6 separate regions of the Homo sapiens genome follow, and regions 1, 2, 3, 5 and 6 are each linked to region 4. The links are contacts of gene promoters, found by promoter capture Hi-C in blood cells and fetal thymus (Javierre and others, 2016). All regions are on one chromosome and are shown on one strand. Each heading gives the region's core, a stretch centred on a gene start or on the middle of the fragment in contact. The rest is flanking DNA. Distances are from core to core; before and after follow the strand shown. Region 1 overlaps NRBP1 (nuclear receptor binding protein 1). Region 2 overlaps IFT172 (intraflagellar transport 172). Region 3 overlaps IFT172 (intraflagellar transport 172). Region 4 holds the start of CCDC121 (coiled-coil domain containing 121). Region 5 overlaps PPM1G (protein phosphatase, Mg2+/Mn2+ dependent 1G). Region 6 holds the start of GCKR (glucokinase regulator).

Evidence for each region. The method cuts DNA at HindIII sites, captures the fragments that hold promoters and counts their contacts. A CHiCAGO score of 5 or more calls a contact.
Region 1: a contact is called between a fragment that was not itself captured here and the fragment with the promoter of CCDC121 in region 4, in 2 of 17 cell types (endothelial precursors and megakaryocytes). The highest score is 5.4, in endothelial precursors.
Region 2: a contact is called between a fragment that was not itself captured here and the fragment with the promoter of CCDC121 in region 4, in 1 of 17 cell types (endothelial precursors). The highest score is 10.0, in endothelial precursors.
Region 3: a fragment that was not itself captured here is called in contact with the fragment with the promoter of CCDC121 in region 4 in 1 of 17 cell types (endothelial precursors); the score reaches 9.2 in endothelial precursors.
Region 5: a contact is called between a fragment that was not itself captured here and the fragment with the promoter of CCDC121 in region 4, in 3 of 17 cell types (megakaryocytes, endothelial precursors and erythroblasts). The highest score is 10.9, in megakaryocytes.
Region 6: the fragment with the promoter of GCKR here is called in contact with the fragment with the promoter of CCDC121 in region 4 in 2 of 17 cell types (endothelial precursors and megakaryocytes); the score reaches 14.4 in endothelial precursors.

Annotation. Positions count from the first base shown.
Region 1 is chr2:27,432,187-27,436,542 of GRCh38, forward strand. NRBP1 (nuclear receptor binding protein 1) reads left to right here. Exons shown (of 18, transcript NM_013392.4): 2 at 1,068-1,297; 3 at 1,487-1,609; 4 at 1,803-1,904; 5 at 2,285-2,374; 6 at 2,536-2,576; 7 at 2,947-3,041. The coding sequence starts at 1,088. Among named protein-coding and RNA genes, the nearest start is that of NRBP1, 5.7 kb to the left of the region's middle. The HindIII fragment of the contact is 6,412 bases long and covers 1-4,356 here.
Region 2 is chr2:27,469,264-27,473,703 of GRCh38, forward strand. IFT172 (intraflagellar transport 172) reads right to left here. Exons shown (of 48, transcript NM_015662.3): 15 at 2,987-3,099; 16 at 1,665-1,832. Among named protein-coding and RNA genes, the nearest start is that of IFT172, 18 kb to the right of the region's middle. The HindIII fragment of the contact is 427 bases long and covers 1,532-1,958 here.
Region 3 is chr2:27,450,306-27,453,089 of GRCh38, forward strand. All of the region lies in intron 35 of IFT172 (intraflagellar transport 172), which reads right to left. Among named protein-coding and RNA genes, the nearest start is that of KRTCAP3, 9.3 kb to the left of the region's middle. The HindIII fragment of the contact is 1,047 bases long and covers 966-2,012 here.
Region 4 is chr2:27,626,567-27,630,863 of GRCh38, forward strand. It overlaps CCDC121 (coiled-coil domain containing 121), which reads right to left and starts at 2,446. Exons shown (of 2, transcript NM_024584.5): 1 at 2,384-2,446; 2 at 1-1,351. The coding sequence starts at 1,233. The coding sequence ends at 397. GPN1 (GPN-loop GTPase 1) reads left to right here and starts at 2,484. Exons shown (of 14, transcript NM_007266.4): 1 at 2,484-2,603; 2 at 3,293-3,386. The coding sequence starts at 2,493. RefSeq lists a silencer at 1,416-1,710 and enhancers at 2,159-2,218, 2,279-2,588, 2,629-2,728. The HindIII fragment of the contact is 4,758 bases long and covers 1-3,100 here.
Region 5 is chr2:27,398,443-27,402,538 of GRCh38, forward strand. All of the region lies in intron 1 of PPM1G (protein phosphatase, Mg2+/Mn2+ dependent 1G), which reads right to left. Among named protein-coding and RNA genes, the nearest start is that of PPM1G, 9.1 kb to the right of the region's middle. The HindIII fragment of the contact is 2,848 bases long and covers 2-2,849 here.
Region 6 is chr2:27,494,017-27,498,098 of GRCh38, forward strand. GCKR (glucokinase regulator) reads left to right here and starts at 2,823. Exons shown (of 19, transcript NM_001486.4): 1 at 2,823-2,948; 2 at 3,228-3,383; 3 at 3,546-3,614. The coding sequence starts at 2,889. It overlaps FNDC4 (fibronectin type III domain containing 4), which reads right to left and starts at 1,184. Exons shown (of 7, transcript NM_022823.3): 1 at 862-1,184; 2 at 531-687; 3 at 335-450; 4 at 1-118. The coding sequence starts at 663. The HindIII fragment of the contact is 4,981 bases long and covers 2,375-4,082 here.

The sequences.
Region 1 (4,356 bases), core at 1,165-3,664, 190 kb before region 4:
GTACTTGGGGATTCAAAGGGAAGCCTATTGGATGAGTATTTGCCAAGAAGGAATGGAGCACCTGATTTTGCTGGTGATTTGAACCTTACTCTAAGTGGGATTAGACTGCCATAAATCTTGTGTTTGTCATTCCTGGGAGGGTCATCTTCAACTAAGATAGCTCCCCTTTTCTAGACTAGAGTTAGGAGAATAGTTAATGTTTCAGTATTTAGGACTGATTCTGATTTTGGATTTAAAGGAAACAAAGGTGGTGTGTGTTTTCTATTTTTAATTTTTAAAAGTTTTGTGTAGAGACTGGGGTCTTTTTATGTTGTCCAGGCTGGTCTCAAATGCCTGGCCTGTTTTATTTTCTTTTGAATTTGCAGATAAGTATTAGGATTATTAAATCTTTTTTTTTGTTTGTTTGTTTTTTGTTGAGACAGGGTCTCCCTCTGTTGCCTAGCCAATGGCATGATCATAGCTCACTGCAGCCTCAAACTCCTGGGCAATCAAGTGATTCTCCCATCAGCCTCTCGGGTAGCTGGGACTATAGCTGTGTACCACCTTGCCCTGCTAATTTTTAAATTTTTTTGTAAAGATGGGGTCTCACTTTGTTGCCCAGGCTGGTCTCAAACACCTGGCCTCAAATGAACCTCTTGCCTCGGCTTCTCAAAGTGCTGGGATTACAGAGGTGAGCCACTGTGCTCAGCTGGATTACTAAATTTTTTTTTGAGATGGGGTCTTGCTCTGTCACCCAGGCTGGAGTGCAGTGGCGTGATCTCAGCTCACTGCAACCTCCACCTCCCTGGTTCAAAAAAATTCTCCTGCCTTAGTCTCCTGAGTAGCTAGGACTACAGGCACGCGTCACCACACCCAGCTAATTTTGTATTTTTAGTAGAGATGGGGTTTCACCATGTTGATCAGGCTGGTCTTGAACTCCTGACCTCAGGTGATCTGCCCACCTCAGCCTCCCAAAGTGCTGGGATTACAGGCATGAGCCACCACGTCCAGCCTGGATTACTAAATCTTTACAGATGTATCCTGACTTTCTCTGCCTTTTCCCTCTGTATTTGCCCCAACCAGTGCAGGCCTGAGTGTTCCTTCCAGCATGTCGGAGGGGGAGTCCCAGACAGTACTTAGCAGTGGCTCAGACCCAAAGGTAGAATCCTCATCTTCAGCTCCTGGCCTGACATCAGTGTCACCTCCTGTGACCTCCACAACCTCAGCTGCTTCCCCAGAGGAAGAAGAAGAAAGTGAAGATGAGTCTGAGATTTTGGAAGAGTCGCCCTGTGGGCGCTGGCAGAAGAGGCGAGAAGAGGTAAGGTTATGGTACAGTTACTCTTGGGTGAGTGAATTCTGGAAAGGTGAGAACTGGAAGAGCAAAGTCTTAAAAGAGGCCAACCAAACTTCAATAGGTTGGGGGCTAGGAGGAGATGATCATATGGAGTGTTAAAATGGAGGATTTGTGAGATAAGTTTAATTCTCTTTCATATGAATTTCTTCTCAGGTGAATCAACGGAATGTACCAGGTATTGACAGTGCATACCTGGCCATGGATACAGAGGAAGGTGTAGAGGTTGTGTGGAATGAGGTACAGTTCTCTGAACGCAAGAACTACAAGCTGCAGGAGGTAGGTGATGCTGAAAAGGTGAAGCCTGGGGAATGTTGGAACACTGATGTTAGAGAGGAATTGGTGTTGGGAAGCTGCCCGTGAGGAGAGTATGTTGGGGTTAGATCGTTTCTGGGGAGGGATAGGGAATGGCTTCTCAGGATTATTACAGTGATTTGTGACTCTGTTATTCCACTGTCTCCCTTGCTTTCAGGAAAAGGTTCGTGCTGTGTTTGATAATCTGATTCAATTGGAGCATCTTAACATTGTTAAGTTTCACAAATATTGGGCTGACATTAAAGAGAACAAGGCCAGGGTAAGAATTTTTTCCCCATATTTCCTGAACTTATTGCAAAGAGACTAGCTACATTTATTATTGTTCCTTTTACACTCAGAGATTAAAACAAGGTAGTTTTGAAACAGAACTGGAATCAGCTGCAATGGCGATAAGAGTAGGGCTTCAGTTGTCACCTATGCCTTTTGTGTGGCTATAGATTGGGCAGAAAATGAGTGAACTTTTGCTTCTTTCTTCCCATAACTTTCATTGCTTGTTTTCATTGCCCTATTTAGTCTAAGTAAGTAAAGCTAAGAACAAAAGGAGAGAAATTTTAACAAACCTTCAAATTTAAAATATGTTAACAAGGGAAGGGATCATTTCTACTATAAGGCCTTTTAGTAAGTGCTTTGCCTCCCCAGGTCATTTTTATCACAGAATACATGTCATCTGGGAGTCTGAAGCAATTTCTGAAGAAGACCAAAAAGAACCACAAGACGATGAATGAAAAGGTATAGAAGGAGAGCAGACAAAGTTTGAGGCTGGTTTTTGGGGGTGGTTTTAAAAAGGACTCTGTTAATAATGAAGCTGATCAGGAAGGGACGGAAGGAGCTAGTGGGAGAGAGTTAAGAGAGGGAATTACTGCTGACCCTTGGATCCAACTTTGTTCCAGGCATGGAAGCGTTGGTGCACACAAATCCTCTCTGCCCTAAGGTAAGTAGTACCTGGTTAGTTTCTTACCCATATTTCCTGATGTAGTTACTCCAAACAGATTTCAGGGCACTACTCTTCTGTTCTATTCTGCCTCTCCCCACTTTCTTTGAATCATATACTGTCAAGATTAGGGCCCCTACGGGTCTTTTAAAGGGTGCGTCCTAATGCCCTAACCACGACACTTATCTCCTACCTCTTTCTCCTAGTGCTTATCCAGCTATTTAAATCATCAGGCATAATGGAGATTCAGAGTGTGGGGATTATCTTTATGGTGACCAGCAGGAGACCTGGCCCTTGCTCCTCTTAACCCTTGGGTTCCCCCTGCCCTTAATTTCCCAGTGGCCCCTCTAACAGCCCAGTGCCCCCACAGCTACCTGCACTCCTGTGACCCCCCCATCATCCATGGGAACCTGACCTGTGACACCATCTTCATCCAGCACAACGGACTCATCAAGATTGGCTCTGGTGAGGGGAGGGAGAGGTTCTGGGCAGGGGAGCCTCGGGAATTTGGGAACCATGGGGGTAAGATGAAAGGAATGGGGGATAACAGAGCAAAATTCTGAGGTGTGGGCTGGTGAGAAGAGAAAGGACCTTGCTAGGAGTAATTAATAGGAGAGGCCAGTTAATTAGTGGAGAGGGGGTAGGATATATAATCTTACACCTTTTTGAAGGGAAAATTGGGGTTAATACAGAGATACTGATAAGAGGCTGGGAAAGGGCAAGAGATAGGTTTGAGGTTTGATTTGAGTCCTGGGGCCAGACCCTGCCAGAGGAGGTTCCAGGCTGTTCCTGCTGTGAGTGCTTTCGTTTGCTGTGTATTGTATGCAGTGTACAACATTTCTGTGTGCTGTGTCTGTGTGGTATTTGTGTGTCCATTTGTCTGGGGCTTGGCTGCTCCATCGCTCACAACTTTTCTCTGTTTTCCTCCCTCCCGCTTACGGGCTGCTCTGTTCCCAACAGTCTTTCATAGGATTTTTGCTAATGGTGAGAGCTCCCTCTGCCCCACTTGGGGCTCTGTTTGTGCTCCCTCTGCTCCCTTGGCGGCTGCCCAGTGCATGCAGTCGTGGGAGCAAACCCTCTTCCCCTATCTTCCCTGCCTAATTATGCCTGCTTAGCTTCTGCCCTGCCAGCCCTCCGCCTGCTTGCCCCTTCATAACCTGCTTGTTTCCTGTGGATTCTGCCTGGCTGGCCACTTACCTCCTGGATTCATGTTCTCCCTCATCATCAGGCTAGTTCCCAGATCATACTGTGCTCCCAGATTCTCTGTGACTTGTAGTCATTGTTTATGATCTGAGTGAGTCCAAATTGGGCCTGGTCCTGGTTCCTCGTTCAGCTCTGTGGCAGACAGTGTTGAGGAATAAGGGGGTAGAACAGGAGTCTAAAATGTTTTGGTGGATTAAAAGTGGAACAGATTCAAGGGTATTAGCTCAATTCTGAGCTGTTTTGAGTTTCACTCAGCAAAGGTGGGTAAGAAGGAGGCTACCTCCTGAGCTGTATGTTAATACTTCTTATCCTTATTTATCCAAGTTCCTGAGGTCTCCAATTGTCCCAGATTAGGAAGGGCTGCCTGTGTTTTTATGTTATTTGCAGGGTGGATGAAAAAACTAAAACCAAATATTTTCATGTGAGCAGGGATTAGAGGTACCTGGGATTTAGGGAAGGTGAACGCAGTACAAGTGAAAATTTTTCCTTAAACTTCATTGCTTCTAGACCAGCCTGAAGCCCCTGTGTATCTGTTAATTTAGTCTGGTGCTTTTGTTGCTCCTGATTTAGGGACATT
Region 2 (4,440 bases), core at 495-2,994, 160 kb before region 4:
ATGCCTGTAATCCCAGCTTCTCAGGACGCTGAGGTGGGAGAATCACTTGAACCTGGGAGGTGGAGGTTGCAATGAGCCAAGATTGTGCCACTGTACGCCAGCCTGGGCAACAGAGTGAGACCCTGTCTCAAAAAACAAAAAACAGAAACAAAAAACTTCTAAATAATATTCTTCAGGAAGAAGAAAAGTCATTCCAGAGGGAAGATTAGCATTGCAAGAAAAGGTAAACAAAGGAACTGGTACCTTGATGGTAAATCTAAATGAATCCTGTCTTATAAAATAATCAGGCAGGGCGTGGTGGCTCATGCCTGTAATCCCAGCACTTTGGGAGGCCAAGGCGGGTGGATCACCTAAGGTCAGGAATTCGAGATCAGTCTGGCCAACATGGCGAAACCTCATCTCTACTAAAAATACAAAAATTAGCTGGGCATGGTGACAGGTACCTGTAATCCCAGCTACTTGGGATGCTGAGGCAGGAGACTCTCTTGAATCCAGGAGACAGAGGTTGCAGTGAGCCGAGATGACGCCACTGCACTCCAGCCTGGGTGACAGAGAGACTCTGTCTCAAATAAAATAAAATAATCATGCCTAACTTTGGAGACAAAATAAGATTAGAACTAAAATACTGGACAACAATGACAAAGGGGAGGAGATGAAAGTTAAAGTCTTGTATTGTTTGCAGGGGAGTGGTTAGATGCTGATTAACTTTAGACTTTGTTCATTTAACTACATGTTAAACTTTCAAGGTAACCTCTACAGAAACAGGACATATAACTTTCAAACCCAAAATGTGGAGAAAAAAAAAAGGTGCTTAAAGAAATTAAACACAAAATTAGCTGGACATGGTGGCATGCACCTGTAGTCCTAGCTGTACAGGGGGCTGAGGCAGGAGGATTGGCTGAGCCCAGGAGGCTGAGCTGCAATGAGCTATGACTGTATCACTGCACTCCAGCCTGGGAGATAGTGGGAGACCCTGTCTCAGAAAGAAGAGAGAGAAAGAGAGAGAGAAAAAAAAAAGAGAGGAAGAAAGAGTAAAAGAGAGAAGGAGAGAAAGAGAAAGAAAAAGAAAGAAAGAACTAAACAAATAAATTTTAGACCCTAATCAGTTTAAAATGAGGTAAAAAGGAGATTTTAAAAAGGTATGGAAAAGGACAAAAAGAAAGCATCAAGCGCTCTACCCATACACACACACTCCTAGCCTAGCACAGGAGCCTGCCTCTCGTTTTCTCTGGCTCCTCCCAGATTTTGGAAGACTACTGGGTATGTATGATGTTGTGGTAGGACAGGAGAGAAGAGCTGATCTGTAATTTGAGAAAAAAAGGCACTTTGAATGGCTTATAACGGAGAATCAGCATAGAAGGAGATGACATTAGAACTGCCTCTCCTATCAGGGATCTTCCAGCCTACAGGGATCTCCATATTATGACCTGGTGACTTCCCGGGGCCACTGTAATGAACCCATACTCCAAGGGTCTAATATAATGTCAGGAATCTGAAAAAGGATGGTTCTGGGGGCTGGTCCATAAGTCTAAGCTTTATTTGCCAATTCTATCACAGAGATTAAGGGTGGTGGACACAGAAAACCAAGTAGCCTTCAGAGTCTCCTCATGGCTCTAATTAATCAGCTCAATACCACATCTGAGGGCCCCTAGTGTCCAACATACCCTAATAGTGAACATGGTGACTCTCTCAGGTGCCTCAATGTTGTACCATACACACAGACTGTTTCGGTTCTGAGCTACCAGCACGTCACTTCCTGGGACCCACTGCATATAGGAGCAGAAGTTGAGGATCATTGTCTTAGAGCAGCTTTCAATATCATACAGATGCAACTGAAGAAAGAAAAGGCAGGTAACACAATTACAAGGGGATGTGGGGTTGTCTCCTGCTTTTGACCATTTTCCTAATGGTGAGATGTGGTGAGCTAACCCACCACTCAGGTTCATGCTGCATTTCAAAGCTTACTGACCTGCTTTCTGCTGAGCTGGTATATCCTAACTCTGGTCAAGTAAGAGATGACCCATAGAACAAAGATCTACATCCCAGGAATTTTAAGTTAGGTGAAGGTCAGACTTTCCTTCTTGAAATAACTCTGGGCCAGAGTTACCAGCTTGGATTACAAATGGCAGGCCACTAGAAAAATTAAATTATCCAGAAATTTGTGATGTGGCTTTCACTGAAATGAAAAGTCATCAGGTTGTCTCTTTGATCTGAGGTTGAAGACTCTGGTGCTACCATATTGGGATGAGAATCAATGAGGGACGAAGAGGCTGTCCTCCAGCCAGTTCATGCTATCAGATAAGTGTGGCTGAAAAGCACTGGACAGCAGGTCTAGGTGAAGGTCAGCTAGGCATGAGGAGGAGGAATGCAGGGTTAAGGAAGTTTCCTGAGGGCACAGACTGTGAATAGTAAGAGACACCAACTTCCAAACTCCCTTCTTGACTTTGTTGCCATAATACAATCACCTCTGAGGTCATACAGGATTGCTGGGCGCATGGCTCAACACCTGTAATCCCAGCACTTTGAGAGGCAGAGGCAGGCAGATCACCTGAGGCCAGGAGGTCAGGAGTTCGAGACCAGCCTGGCCAACATGGTGAAAACCCATCTCTACTAAAAATACAAAAATTATCTAGGTGTGGTGGCACGTGCCTGTAGTCCCAGCTACTGGGGAGGCTGAGGCAGGAGAATCACTTGAACCCGGGAGGCAGAAGTTGCAGTGAGCCCAGATTGTACCACTGCACTCCAGCCTGGGTGACAGAGTGAGACACTGTCTCCAAAAAAAAAAAAAAAGAGGTAATAAAGGATGGGTTTTGCTATCAGTTTTGGTATCAGCTACAGAGAATGTTGATTCTTCTGTGCCTTCTGCCATGTTGATGACACAGCAAAGACAATGTGCTCCATCCTGCCTCCCTCAGTCCCTGGTGGCAGCTTGTCTCACACCCTCTGTGGGCCAGCCAATGCCTAAGGCCTTAGTAGCTCTTCTCACACGAAGTTTCCGGTCCCTGAAGAGGAGCTTGTGTCCAGTCTCATTAAGTTCCAGCCAATCCACACGGCTCTCATGGCTGACGGTGCCAATGTTGTAGCCACCAATCAGATCCACTATAGAATAAAGGAGACAGGGTTAAGAAGAGAGATTCCACACATATACATAGTATGGCCAACACACATAATTTTGCTAGGATGCCTAGGAAGCTAGGTCTCTTTTAGAATTGTAGAGGTTTTGTTTAACTATGTTGTTAACTCAAAAGGTCCAGACCCACAGAAATGTCATCACTCTCTGGGGCTTATGGAGTTACCTCAGAGCAGACTAGAACTATTGAGCAAGTGGCTTCTCCTACTCACAGAATCCCCTCGAAGGCAGCACTGAGCACATTAAAGATAAGCCTGATACAATACAGCAGTGAGACAAGGCTGATGAATCAATGACCTTGATGGTCATATGCTCTAAGAAGTCACCCGTATATTTGAATGCCTACTGTGTAAGAGCACTGCAAGGGTGGATGGTGGGGAAGGCAACAGACAAACCTCTGACTAAAGTTAGGCTGGTCACTGCAGAGGATGAATATTTTAGTTTGGTTTGAATCTTCTAGACATTATCAGAAACTATCACATTTAGAGCAGACCAATTAGGGTTGGCTGGGATGGTTTCAGGGGGTCTCTTGATCAAAGCCTATTTATAAGTTTTAGTGATATCCATTATTAATGAACAATGGGCCCCACTTTGTTATATATGCTTAAGCTAAAGACCAAATGTCCACTGGTGTCCATAATTGTGAAGACCAATTTAAAAAACAATCTTCCTTTAATTAAAAAGTAAAATCGGCAGGGCATGGTGGCTCATGCCTGTAATCTCAGCACTTTGGGAAGCCAAGGTGGGCAGATCACCTGAGGTCAGGAGTTGGAGACCAGCCTGGCCAACATGGTGAAACCCTGTCTCTACTAAAAATACAAAAAAAATTAGCTGGGCGTGGTGGCTGGCACCTGTAGTCCCAGCTACTCGGGAGGCTGAGGCGGGAGAATGGCGTGAACCCGGGAGGCAGAGCTTGCAGTGAGCTGAGATCGCGCCACTTCACTCCAGCCTGGATGACAGAGCAAGACTCTGTCTCAAAAAAAAAAAAAAAAAAAGGAAAATGATAAAGCCGTATTTTTTTTTTCTCCCGCCTCAGCCTCCTGAGTAGCTGGGACTACAGGCGCCAGCCACCACGACCGGCTAATTTTTTGTATTTTTAGTAGAGACAGGGTTTCACCGTGTTAGCCAGGATGGTCTCAATCTCCTGACCTCGTGATCCGCCTGTCTCAGCCTCCCAAAGTGTTGGGATTACAGGCGTGAGCCACTGCGCCTGGCCGATAAAGCCATATTTTAATGCCCCAATTATAAGTAGAATCAGAGTTCTAGAGTGGCGACGGCCCTAACTCCTCAGAACCCTGAAATTATACACA
Region 3 (2,784 bases), core at 239-2,738, 180 kb before region 4:
CATTAACTCTTTCAGATACTTCCTGCGCTGCCTGAGGTCACTGCATTTGAAACTTCCGCCTTTGACAAAATCATTTTCAAGGTCTTTGTCATAAGTAAAATCTTCGTAGCAGAGTACAGAGAAAGGACTCCTAAAATAAGGAGTCCAGGGCATTCTGTAACTATTTGTGTTGGGCTTTTATGAACTTGTTTCTTCATTCACACACACTGGATTTTGAAGATTTAGTATAAAAAAAGAATGGAAAATATCTAAATAATGTGTGTGAGTACATGTTGAAATGGTAGTATTTTATTTAATTTTTTTAAGACAGAGTCTTGCTATGTCGCCCAGGCTGGAGTGCAGTGGCACAATATCAGCTCACTGCAACCTCTCCCTCCCAGGTTCAAGCAATTCTCTTGTCTTGGCCTCCTGAGTAGCTGGGATTACAGGCACCCACCACCATGCCCAGCTAATTTTTGTATTTTTAGTAGAGATGGGGTTTCACCATGTTGGCCAGGCTGGTCTCAAACTCCTGATCCTCAAGTGATCTGCCCACCGTGGCCTCCCAAAGTTCTGGGATTACAGGCATGTACCACTGCGCCCAGATGAAATGGTGTATTTTAGATATACTGTGTTAAATAAAATATATTACAATTATTTTTACCTGTTTTTTTTTTTTTTTACTCTTTTTAAATGTGGCTACTAGAAAATTTAAATGACATGTATGGCTTACATTTGTGGCCTGCATTATATTTCTAGTGCCAGTGCTGGTATAGATGGTCTTGATGATAACCTTTCAACACTTAAAACTCAGAAATTCTACAAACCCAAGTGTTCAATGAGATCACTCTGTTTCCATTATGATGCTGACATCCTTACCAGATTTCAATTTCCACACAATCCAATTTCACTGTAGTTTATGCTAATCCCCTCTGGTCTTTCCCTCACCTGTTCTTGCCTCCCTTTCTTACTGCCAAGCCCTTCAAAGCTTAATCTGCCCTGTCTGCATCAGGAAGCCATTTTCTGACTAATCTGAAAAAGGTACAGTCATGCCATGCTCCCAAGTTACATATATCAGATGCTTATTCAATACTGCTGATTAAAATCTGCTAGAACCTCAAAACCAATCATCAGCCCCTCTCTTTCTACTTCTCTCCCTCTAACTTCTAGGGGTTATTGAGTTTTAAGACCTCAAAAGGCCAGGCACGGTGGCTCACGCCTGTAATCCCAGCACTTTGGGAGGCCAAGGCTTGTGGATCATGAGGTCAGGAGATGGAGACCATCCTGGCTAACACGGTGAAACCCCGTCTCTACTAAAAAAATACAAAAAAATTAGCCCGGCATGATGGTGGGCACCTGTAGTCCCAGCTACTCAGGAGGCTGTGGCAGGAGAATGGCCTAAACCCAGGAGGCGGAGCTTGCAGTGAGCCGAGATTGCACCACTGCACTCCAGCCTGGGCGACAGAGCAAGACTCCGTCTCAAAAAACAAACAAACAAAATAAACAAACAAACAAAAAAACCTCAAAACCTAAGGGAAATTTTGCAGGGGCATCACCATACGAATATGTCATTTAGAGGGCCAATCTCACCCCCCTCATGACCCCCACTCACATTTCACTGTATCTAAGGTGCGTCATTTAAACTATACCTGCATCCCAATTTTAAATATATTAAAATATAATTATATATATGTATGTGTGTGTGTATATATATATATATATATGTTATTGTTAACTTTATGTATCAATTTGGGCTACAGGGTATCCGGGTATTTGGTCAAACATTATTCTGGGTGTTTCTATAAGTGTTTTTGGATGAGGTTAACATTTAAATTGGTAGACTGAGTAAAGCAAATTGCCCTCTCTACTGTGGATAGACCTCATCCAATCATTTCAAGGCATGAACAGAACATAAAGGCTGGCTCCTTCCCAAGTTAGAGAGAATTCTTCCTGTTTGACTGCCTTTAAACTGGGACACTGGCTTTTTCCTGCCTTCAGATTTGAACTGAAACATCAGCTCTTCTTGGGTCTCAAGCTTGCTGGCCTTCAAACAAGAACTACACCATCAGTTCTCCTGGGTTTTCAGTTTGCCAGCTCACCTGCAGATCTTGGGCCTTGTCTATCTCCATAACTGCATGAGCCAATTCCTTTTAATAAATCTCTTTATATACATGTACACACATATACCTACAGTCATGCATTGTCTAATGATCAGTATGTTCTGAGAAATGTGTCCTTAGGGGATTTCATCATTATGTAAGCATCATAGCACAAACCTAGATGGTATAGTCTACTATACACCTAGGTAGAGGTTGCGTAGAGCTTATTGCTCCTAGGCCACAAACCTGTACAGCACATTTCTGTACTGACTACCTATAGGCAACCATAACACAATGGTAAGCATTTGTGTATTGAAACCTATTTAAGGCCAGGCGTGGGATCACCTCAAGGGATCCACCCACCTCAGCTTCCCAAAGTGCTAGAATTATAGGCGTGAGCCACCATGCCCACCCATGTGGTCTACTGTTGACCAAAACGTTGTTATATGGCATATGACTGTATATATCCTGTTGGTTTCTCCAATACAGTATGTCTTATTATTTGTGACACATACTGGCCTGGCTTAATTTGCTGGAAGCTTCTTTTCAGGAAATGTTGGGTGGGGGAGGTGGAGCCCATGCTTTTTTCATGTTCCCTGTCTGGCCAGTTCCTGTGCCTGGAGTTGCCCTTCCAGCTCCTGTCCAAGTCTTCCCTCCTTCTTCACAGAGCCTTCCTGACCCCTCTAGCCCACAGAGATCTCACTGT
Region 4 (4,297 bases), core at 1,196-3,695:
GTCTATTTGGAATGCTATCCTTAAAGGTACTTTCTCTATAAAGAAATACAATTTAGCTAGATGAAATAAATCACAACTGTTTTCACTTCCTTAGGTTGGTTTCCTTTAGCTAGTTTGATGTATGGTAAATGGCTAGGTTAGGGTCATGTGTTAGGTTAACTGGAGGTTTGTGGAATAGCTTATTAACGAGTATTTAAAGAAAAAGCTAGTTAAGGGAAGCTGGTTACCAAATATCTAGTAGGACTGTTGGATAAAACCATCTAATCCTTCACTCCAACACATCATGATGGAGATTTTACAATAGCAATCTGGAATCCAACAGCCTTTCTAACCAGGTTAATGTAGCACTTAAGAGTACTTGCTCCAGTTCTTATTTAATCAGTGTTATTTTAGAAGTTACTTTGGATTAATCCTTGATTTGGTGCCTTGGGGAAGACTGGGTGTGGTCTTTGGAACATCCTGTCTATTTAGGCACTGATTATGACTTCCTTGCAGTCTCTGCCTCGCCTGGATTAAGGACTCCAGATACCACTGTTCCTGCTGCAGCTGCTGCTTCCTGTTTTCTAAGTGGCTTTGAGTAGCCGTTAGTTTCTGGGCTTGCTCAATTAGCTGCAGTAATTCCTTCTTGAACTGCTGGTTCTCTCTGTTGATGCCACAGGAGTATTCAAAAATAAACCGCTTTGCTGCCAACTTCAAGGCCTGGGCCTTCATATTAAGCTCTCTTCTTTTTCTCTTTCCCAGTAGCCTCCTGTCTGGCTCGCTCAGTTGTTTCTCCAGTAATCTTTTCTCCTGGAGGAGCTGGGCCTGTACTTCCCGTGTCTTTGAAGCTGTCTCAGCTTGGACTTTCTTTGTCTCCTCCTGTAATGTCTGTATTTCTTTCTCCTGCTTTTCCTTTAATATAGCAATGTCCCTCATTGCCTGCAACTTCCGCTTCAAACTGGATTGGATATTTTCCTTTTGCAAGAGCGCTGTTTTAAGCACTGAAATTTGTTCTGCATATCTGGAGGCTGATTCTTGTCTTCTTCGTTCAATCTCTCCACTTTTTTGTAAATAGCTGTTCCATACCTTCTCAGGTTGCTCTGTGTACTCTTCAGTTTTGTTAGTCAGGTATTCCAGAAAGAATCTGTTTTCAGCCTGGACAAGTAACTTTTCTCGGTGTAGCTCCCTGGATTCCTCCAGTAGCTGTTTCCGCTGGGTTTGAGCTTGTTTTATATGCTTGTTCAGATCCGTCATTTCCGCCACTATCTTTTCTTTAAGCCTTGTCTCTACCTTTGTTAGCTTCTCTGGCTTGACAAAATTATTTATTAGACTATGATACGGTGGAAGGAGCCTTCTGGGGCCCTCAGCAAACCTGAAAGAACAAACGAGACATTCCTCTGTCAGTTAATGAAACTTTAGGAAGTAAGTGCACAACTGTCCTTCATTCATACAAGAGAATATTTCTGAGCACCAGAATGTTCCAGACATTATGCAAGGTGTGGGGAATCCAGCTAGTGGTAAAGGATGAGGAATGTAGCTCGTCATTTACAACGTGCATTCACTACAACCCTGGGAGGTATTACCTCAGTTTTAAAAAAGGAGAAAACAGGTTCAGAGAGTTTAAGTGACTTGCCCATGACTCACACCACTAGCAAGTGGCAGAGCCTGGGTATTAAAGCCAGATCTTATGACTTACTGAACACTGTTTGCAGCTACAAAGGGTCACAGAAACAGACTGGGTGGTCAGGAGTAGAAATAATTTTCTAGGCTCTTTCATCATCTTTCCTGAGTTTCTGAGGGACCTTCAGTGACTGGAGGGGAGGAAGCTCCCCTCCAGTACCTACTTGCACCTGGAATCCAAGCATTCATCCTGAAGGTCACGGCAACTGTGTAGTTCACTGAGGGTGACTGCCAAGGAATGAGCGCTAGCATCAGGAACCTGCGTCTGCAACTCGCGGGAACAATGTGCAAGTGTGGAAAGCTCCCGTAGTTTATTCGTTCGGTGCTCAAAGGGTCTCGGTGCTGCCCAGCAACCCTGGAGACTGCACCCTGCTCCAGTCCCGGCTGGTCCAGCCCTGAACTGTTTAACCGCCTCGGCTACCGAATAAGCCCGAGCAGCCGGTCCTCCAGTGGCTCCGCTCCCCGTTCTCTGTGGGCTCAAAATGACAGGCATGCTCCTCGTTTTCTTGCTGTGTGAGCCCTGCCCTCGGGACCCCATCTCTTCTGGCCTTCCTCCGGGAGACAAAAGCCCTCCCAGGCTGCAGAGATCAGCGCCCTTTTCCTAGCTCCCTTCAGCCTTCCTCTCGCTTGCTCAGCGCCCCCACTTCCTCGCCACTGTCACTAGTTGACTCATCAGCCCTGCCCGACGCTAAGAAGATGCCCTGGCAACCGCCGCGCCCCTCACCCGCTCCTTTCTGACGCTGTGGTGGTTTTCGTTCGCAGCCCAGAACATTGCGGAAGTTTCTCTACCCATGCGGTGTCTCTATGGTCGGGTGGGTGGGGCCAGGAGGAAGATGGCGGCGTCCGCAGCTGCCGCTGAGCTCCAGGCTTCTGGGGGTCCGCGGCACCCAGTGTGTCTGTTGGTGTTGGGAATGGCGGGATCCGGGAAAACCACTTTTGTACAGGTGACGTACACAGCATGGGTGTAGTAGGGGAGCGCAAAAGGTTGCCTCCGGCAGGCGGAAGGCCAGGAAGAAAGGGAGGGAAGAGGATTTGGAGGGTACCGGCGCATGGCTTTCGGGGGCTTCCCATCAACTTTAGTTCCTTCCCCGGCAAAGCCTCCTCGGGCCCTAGCCAGGTTAATTAAGGCTCTCTTCTGCGCACCTTCAGGGCATACTCGGTCCAGCTTACCACGTTGTACAGGAATTGTCTTGCTGATAAAATTGCGTTTCTCGGAGGCAAGTTACAAGTAACTTTAAAGATTAATACAGTGCTAGCACACAGGTTTTGGTGAAGATTTGCCAAATATTTCTTGCACGCCTGTCATGTTCCATTCACTGGGGATATAGCGAAAATGAGGTTGACAAGATTCATTCGTGGGGCCAAATATTTAATGGAGGAGATAGAGAAAACCCACATACGAAGAATCAAAACAAGTAAACAAGTGACTACGAGTAGGGGAAGCTTTGTTAGATGGGTGATGAAGAAAGGTAGCATTTGAACTGAGAGTTGTATCTTGGAGGTGGACATGGTGGATATTTCAGGTAGAAGAAAATCTAAGTGCAATATTCTTAAGGCATGGGTGTTAAAGGAATGGAAGTTCTCTCTTGTCCCCTCTTTGTCTCCTTCCAACCCTCTCCCCATATCTCTGCAGAGGCTCACAGGACACCTGCATGCCCAAGGCACTCCACCGTATGTGATCAACCTGGATCCAGCAGTACATGAAGTTCCCTTTCCTGCCAATATTGGTGAGTAAACCAGTAACATAACTTGTGTGCAGTGCTTTAAAGAGAATGGAAAAGGCCAGGCGTGGTGGCTCACGGCTGTAATCTCAGCACTTTGGGAGGCCGAGGCAGGTAGATCACGAGGTCAGGAGTTCAAGACCAGCCTGGCCAAGATGGTGAAACTCCATCTCTACTAAAAATACAAAAAATTAGCCAGGCACGGTGGCAGGCACCTGTAATTCCAGCTACTCGGGAGGCTGAGGCAGGAGAGTTGCTTGAACCCGGGTGGCAGAGGTTGCAGTGAGCCAAGATCGTGCCACTGCACTCCAGCCTGGTCAATAGAGTGAGACTCTGTAAAGCCTCCAGCCTGCCAGTCTTCAGTGCCTTCTTTTTTCATGTTTTCTAAACTATCTACTTTCATTTCCTTTGGATTTGCTTGCATTCCTAAACAGCTTAGGTTTTTTTTTTTTTTTTTTTTTTTTTAGACAGAGTCTCTGTCACCCAGGCCAGAGTGCAGTGGCGTGATTCACAGGTCACTGCAGCCTCAACATCCCAGGCTCAAGTGATCCTCCCACCTCAGCCTCCTGCCGCTATGCTGGGCTAGTTTTGTTTTGTTTGGAGAGACAAGGCCTCTCTATGTTGCCCAGGCTGGTCTTGAACTCCTGGGCTCAAGTAATCCTCCTGCCTTGGCCTCCCAAAGTGCTGGGATTATAGGTGTGAGCCACTGTGCCCAGCCTAACTCCTTTTAAAAAATCATGTCTGCATTGCCATTGTGTTGCCTTTGTCAGTAATAGGCAATTAGTAAGAAGCATTTTTTCCCCCTTGATTTTTGCCTCCCTTTTTCTAGGCATGTTTAAGTTGCATGAAACTTTGCACTTTGTGGAGACAAAACTCTTTGCCACAACTTTAGAGCTCCTAGCCCTAACATTCTTCAT
Region 5 (4,096 bases), core at 176-2,675, 230 kb before region 4:
AAGCTTCTTAACAAAAACAAACAAACAAAATAGACAAATTGGACTTTATCAAAAGTAAAAACTTTTGTTTCAAAAGACACCATCAAGAAAGCAAAAAGAGGCTGAGTGTGGTGGCTCACGTCTGTAATCCTAGCACTTTGGGAGGCCCAGGCGGACGGATCACGAGGTCAAGAGATCGAGACTATCCTGGCCAACATGGTGAAACCCCGTCTCTACTAAAAATACAAAAATTAGCTGCGCATGGTGGCATGTGCCTATAGTCCTAGCTACTCGGGAGGCTGAGGCAGGAGAATGGCTTGAACCCGGGAGGCAGAGGTTGCAGTGAGCCGAGATCATGCCACTGCACTCCAGCCTGGCAACAGAGCGAGACTCCGTCTCAAAAAAAAAAAGAAAAAAAAAGAAAGAAAGCCAGCAAAAAGAATCAGGGTGTAGTGGCTCATGACTGTAATCCCAGCACTTTGGGAGGCTGAGGCAGGCAGATCACCTGAGGTCAGTAGTTCAAGACCAGCCTGGCCAACATGGTGAAACCCGGTCTCTACTAAAAATAAAAAATTAGCTGGGAGTGGTGGCACACACCTGGGTCCCAGCTACTCGGGAGGCTGAAGCAGGATAGCTTGAACTCAGGAGGCAGAGGTTGCAGTGAACCAAGATCGCGCCACTCCATTCCAGCCTGGGTGGTCAGAGCAAGACTGTCCCCCGACCAAAACAACAACAACAACAACAACAACAAAAACAAAACAAAAAAAGAAAGCAAAAGTCCACAAAAATTGGAGAAAAGATTTGCAAATCATATATCTAACAAACTTGTATCCAAAACACATAAAGAACTCTTACACATCAAAAGACAAAAAGACAATCCAATTAAAAATGGACAAAGACTTTGAACAGACATTTCTCCAAAGAAGATACACAAATGTCCAATAAGCACATAAAAGATGTTCAAACATAAGGCCTGGCATGGTGGCTCTAGCCTGTAATCCAGCACTTTGGGAGGCCCAGGGAGGCGGATCCTTTGAGGTCAGGAGTTCGACACCAGCCTGAACAACATGGTAATGCCCTGTCTCTACTAGAAATACAAAAAATTAGCTGGGTGTGGTGGCATGTGCCTGTAATCCCAGCTGCTAGGGAGGCTGAGGCAGGAGAATCGCTTGAATCTGGACAGAGTGAGATTCTGTCTCAAACAAAAAGTTCAAACATCATTAGCCATTTAGCCATCAGAGAAATACAAATCAAAACTACAATGAGATACCATCTCACACCCACCATTAGTTATTATAAAAAAGGTGGATAAGTGTAGTGAACATGTGAAGGAACTGGCATCCTCATATATTGCTGGCAGGAATGTACGACGGTACAGCAACTTTGGAAAACAGTTTAGCAGTTTCTCAAAATGTTAAACACGTAGTTACCATATGACCCAGCACTTCCACTCTTTGGTATATAACCAAGAGATATGAGGACATATTTCCACACAAAAATTTGTACATAGTATCACTATTTATAATAGCAAAAAAAAAAAAAAAAAGTGGAAATCCAAAATGTCTATCAACTAATGAATGGATAAACAAAATGTGACAAATCCATACCATGGAATATTATTCAACCATAAAAAAGAACGAAACACTGATTGATTCATGACACAACATTGATGACCCTTAAAAATATTACGCTTGGCCGGGCGTGGTGGTTCATGCCTGTAATCCCAGCACTTTGGGAGGCCGAGGCAGGCGGATTGCCTGAGCTCAGGAGTTCGAGACCGCCCTGGGCAACACAGCGAAATCTCGTCTCTACTAAAATACACACAAAAAATTTAGCCGGGTGTGATGGTGGGTACCTGTAGTCCCAGCTACTCGGGAGGCTGAGGCAGGAGAATCGCTTTAACCCAGAAGGTGGAGGTTGCAGTGAGCTGAGATCGCATCACTGCACTCCAGCCTGGGCGACAGAGGGAGACCCTGTCCCCAAAAATAAAAAATTAAAATTAAAAAATTATGCTTAGGCACAACTATGATACATCAACTGAAAAATATCAGGCTGGGTGTGGTGACTCATGCCTGTAATTCCAGCACTTTGGGAGGCTGAGGTGAAAAGATTCCTTGAGGCCAGGGGTTCAAGGCCAGCCTGGACAACACAGTAAGACCCTGTCTCCATGAAAATAAATGAATAAACAACAATAATTAAAACTGACCTCCTGGAGATAAGAAAAAGAGTTAACTAGGAGATAAGAGAAAATTCAAGAATTGTTAAGTCATTAATTTGAGATGGAGTTCTGGGTCTTTTGCTTCCCTTCCATCAACTAAGTGAGGAAGGTTCCAACAGAAACAAATGGGAGTGCCTAAAAGAAAACTAGCATCTCTTTCCTGGTTACACAGGCAACAGACTTGGTGATCTGCCTGAGCTCTGTCTATCTGAACAGAAGGAGAGAATTTTAAAAAGTGCCCACTGGAGCCTGAACCATCCTGCTGGTATCCATCCAAAGGAGTCCAGCAGTATGAGGTCAAGGATACACAGCAGGTGGTAAAAGCCACAGAAAAGTCTAAAAACCAAAAGTGGAGATCAAGTCCCTCTGGGCCAGGCCTGGCTATTGCTGCAAACACAGAGATGGTGAGTGATAACTGGATATGAGACTGGAGTTTTAAAGAGATTTCTGATTCTATTAAGCTCTGTAAAATAAAACCTGCAAGGCACTGATCTAGAAAGAAGCAAAAGAACCTTGGGTCAGCAAAATACTTATTCTTAAATCTACTACAACAATGTATGTGTGATTTTTTTAAAAAGAAACTTACAGGCAAAGCTGAGGGGTAGAGGGAATACTTGGGGTGGAGAGTAATTTACTCTTCCAGGGGCCAACAAGCTTTAAAGTCAATTTCAAAAATACACATGCTTAGTAAAAGCATCCAGATATAAAAGGTAGTGTATTTAGAATTCCATTTATAAAATGTTCAGAATAGGCAAATTCATAGAGGTCATGTAAATTAGTGGATGCCAGGGGTTAGTGGACGGAAGATAGGGAGTGACTGGTAAAGAGTACAGGGTTTCTTTTTGGGGTTCTAAAACTGATTGTGGTGACAGTTGTACAACTCTGTTTGAATACACTACAAAACAGGCAGGCACGGTGGCTCATGCCTGTAATCCCAGCACTTTGGGAGGCTGAGGCAGGCAGATCACTTGAGGCCAGGAGTTCGAGACCAGCCTGGGCAACATGGTGAAACCCTGTTTCTACTGAAAATATAAAAATTAGCTGGGTGTGGTGGCGTGAGCCTGTAGTTCCAGCTACTCAGGATGCTGAGGCAAGAGAATTCGCTTGAACCTGGGAGGTGGAGGTTGCAGTGAGCTGAGGCTGCGTCACTGCACTCCAGCCTGGGTAACAGAGCAAGACCCTGTCTCGAAAAAAGAAAAAAAGAAGAAAAAAAAGAAAATATACTAAAAGCCACTGAATTATACCCTTAAAATGAATGAATTATACCCTTAAACCCACTGAATTATACTCTTAAAGTGAGTTCATATACTGTATGGTATATGAACCATATGTGGTATGAACCATACAGTATATGAACTCTATCTCAATAAAGCTGATTAAAAAGGAACCTGTAAGAAATAAATAAAATAAAAAGGAACCTGTATACACATTTTCAAATACTAAATATGATTAAAAGGTGTTGTTTTTCTGCTAGCATTGGGTCAAAAAGGAAAAAAAAGTTGATATACTTCATCTCTGAACTAGATCTAGAAAGAAACAAAAACAACTACACTGAAATCATACTCTGTCTACAAAATGTCATTAAACATCTTAAGCTCAGTTCTAAAGATTTGTTTCCAGATAATACAATGTCAAGAACTACTGATCAGACCTGTATAAATTTCTATGTTCAAATTCAAGCCCTTACCTCTCAAAATTCAATTCTAAGACTAATAACCCAATAGAAGATTAGAGGTTAGGGAAACAGTAGTAACAACTGCTAAGGAATCAGACAATAGAACTTTGTGTAAAATATCCTTGAAATCTTGAGGAATACGTTCTGATTGTATTTTCCAGTTGCTTGAGAACTTATAAGGCAATGGTATAAAATATAAAATAATTTCTAGACCAGGCATGGTG
Region 6 (4,082 bases), core at 1,573-4,072, 130 kb before region 4:
GGCCGATGCTCCTGACCTGCACTGTGTAGTCACTGTCTTCAGCCAGGCCCCAGAGGGCACAGGCCCGGGTGGTGGTGTTCACCTCCCGAATCACACGCTGCCCGGGGCCATTCTGCCGCTGCAGGGAGATGAGGGGAGAGGAGGACAGCCTCACCCCAGTGCCAGGCCACAAGGCTCAACCAGAGACTCTTCAACATCCAAGCACTCCGGGGGAGTAGCGTGAAAAGGGCAGCCTGAGCCAGGATACGCCAGCTTCCAGATCCCCCCCACTTAAGTGAAGAAATGTGCCGAAATCCAAGGACACAGGTTGGGGGAGCAGAAGGGTGATTCATACTTGCTGGGAAATGGAGTAGCCAATGACGATGTTGCCTTCTGGGACGTCCCAGGACACAGTGGCCGAGTTGGCTCTGAGGTGAGTGACCGTCACATTCACAGGAGAGGGAGGCCGGTCTGCGGGAGCCAGGGTGTTTAACAGGTTTCACCCATTGACTAGCTGTGGTTGACCCTCAGCCCCGTTCCCCTTTACTTACCTGCTCGCACGAAGCCCAGGTCACAGCTGACCAGCAGGAGGACCGTGGGGCTTAGATATGGGGAAAGGGGCACCAGCGAAGCCATGTCCCCACGGAGTCCGCTGGGGGGGGAACTGTGGCATCCGCTTGGCATCCGCTTGACATCCAGGCGGGGCTCCTGGAGATGGCAGGAGTTGTGGGGGGTCAAGGACTGCCCAGAACGCACGGAGGTCGGGGGGCAGCAGCTCTCCTGGGCTCCCCACAGCTCACAACAGCCCTATTTTCTCTACGCCCTCCCGCCCCCGCATTGCCCGGGCGGCCCCAGAGTGCGGTCCGCCCTGCCCACACCCACCTCCGCCGGTCCTCGCGGTTGGTCAGGCCTCGGGGGGCTGCTCGGTGCCCAGAGGGCGGCCCATCGCCCGACTCGGTGGCGCTGCCCCTACCCCATCCCGGCGCGGGCCCGGCGACGCGGGCAGCGCGGGGCCGAGCTGCGGGCGGAGCGGGCGCGGGTCTGCGGAGCCCCCAGGGCTCGAGCGGGCCACGGAGTCTGTCCGGGAGCAGGGGGCGTTGCCCGGACGCTGGCCTGGGTCCCCGGTGCGGGAGGCAGTGCGGCGGCCTCCGCCCGCCCCTGCAGCGGGATGTGACCGTCCCGGAGAGCCAGCCGCCGCCTTCTGCAGCGCTGGCCCCGCTCGCTCCGCCGCAGCCCGGCCGGGACGCGCGGGCCCGCCCCGCCCAGCCGGGGTTCTCGCCGCCGTCATTCCCCTCCCGCCCCCTCACTCCCGTCCTCTCGGGGCTCCTCCCACGACCCTCCCAATGGCGCCTCCGGAGCCCCCATCCCTTATCCCTTCTCTCTCCCAGCTGAAGCGGACGAGTCGGCGGGGGCGTGGGGGGTGAGACGCGGGTGCTAGGGTCTCCGGCACCTGGGAGATCCCCTTCCTCCCCGCGTGGAAGAGCCAAGTTGGGAAGAGGAATTCCACCTCCAGTGCCCGAGGGGCTAACAGGAGAGGGGAGAGAGTGAGGGAGATAATAATTGCTTTAACAATCCCTTACTTGTAGACTGCGTCAGCTTTTAAGTCTCTTTTCCATTCATAATCTCATTTAATTCCGTTCGCTTTCTCATTCATTCTTTCATTTATTCACCAAATATTTATTGAGCATCTCCTATGTGTCTGGCATTATATTAAAACCTGGAGATACAGTGATTGTTAAGAGTGTTGGGCTTCTCGGGAGAATCAAAGCGCAAAGACCTATGGCTTTTTTAAAAAAATTATTATTCCTTTCTTTTCTTTTTTTGTTTTTCTAAAGCTCTACCACTTACGGTGTGGTTTTGGAGAAACTGGTTTATCTGTGCTTCAGGTTTCCCACCTGTAAAGCAAAGCGTGTGAAATCTCACAGGGTTGTTGTGAGGCTCAAATGAGACGGGAAAGATCTTTATAAATCTCACAACACTATGTGACTGGATGATGGAGATTAATTTGCACCAATCTGTTAGTTACTTCTTTGTTCAATAACATGTAAGCCCTTACATTATATCATGCTTTGGTTGAGCTTGAAATCTGAATTGAGAACCTGGGTGTGAGTCCCAATTTGTCCAGCTGTGTGATCTTAAGCAACCAACTAAACTACTCTGAGCCTGTTTCATCATCTGAAAAATGAGGGTGTCAATATTGACCAACATCTTAGTGTTGGTGTATCCAATGAGATACTGTCTGTGAAAAGTGTGTTGTTCAGTGTAAATAAATGTTGGCTAACATTGTATTTAGGGCAGATTCTTTGGTTTCTAATTCTCAATGCAGTATTTCTGTTTCTGTGGGATTTTTCCCGCTGTAATATCCAGTACAGTGTGTGCACACTTGGGGCTCAGAAGCTTCTACTGCCTTCCTTTCTGAGAGGAGAGGATAAAATGGGACCAGTGGGACTGACTGTGTGTGCTGAGCATGTGATCAAGCCATGGGCCAGGTCCTCTGACTTGTGCTGACTTGGTGACCCTGATCTCTGGCCTCGGAGGACACTTGCCCAGGGATTCTCACTGCCGTGGGTGTTGTCCTGCACTCCCAGGCTCCAGGTCCTCTGTAGAAGAGGGCATTGTCCCGGTAGGGCAAGAGTCCCGAGCCTCAGGTCTTCCTCTTCAGGGGCCAAAGCAGAGGCTGGCGAGTCAGGGTGCTTGCAAAGAGGAAGCCCAGGAGTTTCCCTGGGGTTACCAGAGGGCTGGGGGCCTAGTGACCAGGAAAGGGTGGTGCTCTGAGAGCCCAGGGTGCTTGGGTTAATCATCACTGGGGCTCAGATAAGGCCCTGCCAACTGGAAGCAGAGTCATTGTGACCAGAGGGGTTTGTGTGGCTGAAGAGGCAGGAGGAACAGTGTATCCACAGCGTGGGACCATGCCAGGCACAAAACGGTTTCAACATGTCATTGAGACCCCGGAGCCTGGCAAGTGGGAGGTGAGACCCCTTCTTCATGTTGGCTTTCTGTGCTGATTCCTAGAATTATTTTTCATCCAGTCTTCCCTCCCCGCTGGTTTCTGCTCACCTCTTCTTCCTTCCTGATGTTCTTTCCCTAATATGCCCAGAGCACCAAGTGCAGGCTGAGTTTCTGGTGTGGTATGTGTGTGCGTGTGTGTAAGTCCAAACTCTGTGCCTGCTGCCACTCCCACCTCCAGCTCAGCAGGCATGAATGAGGCTTTGGCTTCCTGCTCCATCCTTGTCCCCTCTTCCTTCTAGTTGTCTGGGTACGAGGCAGCTGTGCCAATCACGGAGAAGTCAAACCCACTGACCCAGGATCTAGACAAAGCAGATGCTGAGAACATTGTTCGACTGCTAGGGCAATGTGATGCTGAGATCTTCCAGGAGGAGGGGCAAGCCCTGTCCACATACCAGGTAACCAAGACCCAAGACCTGGACCCTGGAAATAAACATGCCAACCCCAACCCCACCTCTGCTCTCCCTCACCATGGCTCCTAATATCGGAAACCCTGAGACCCCCTCCCCCATTCATCGTCCTCCTTTTCTTGGCTTCTCATTCCTGCATATTCCCTACAGAGACTCTACAGCGAATCCATTCTGACCACCATGGTACAGGTGGCTGGGAAAGTTCAGGAAGTGCTGAAGGTACTAACCTTCCTTCTGTTCCCTGCCTAAACTTTTCTGTTTCCCTCTTTCTCTTTTTACTGTCTCTATTTCTCACTTTGATAGATCTCATTCTCCTTTCTCCCTTTTGGAGATCCTCCCTTTTGGATCCTTATTTTCATCTTATTAATAAATAATAATGATAACTTCTCTGCTTAATACTTTATAATTGACAATCTACTTTCACACCTATTACCCTCACAAAAGCCTGTGAAGTTGATATGACTTCTGTTTGTTTTCCTCAGATGAAAAAACAAAGATTTAGAAAGGATAATCACTGTAGCTTGCTCAAATACACTGAGCTAATAATTGCTGGATAATGCTGCTTTTATTATTTACTTTTATTTAGATGACAAAGCTGCTTTCAGTTCTTTCTGGGAGAAGTAAGGATTTGAACAAGTAGTGGAGCAAGACATGGGAGTCAAACTGGTTTCTCTAATCCAATGTTCT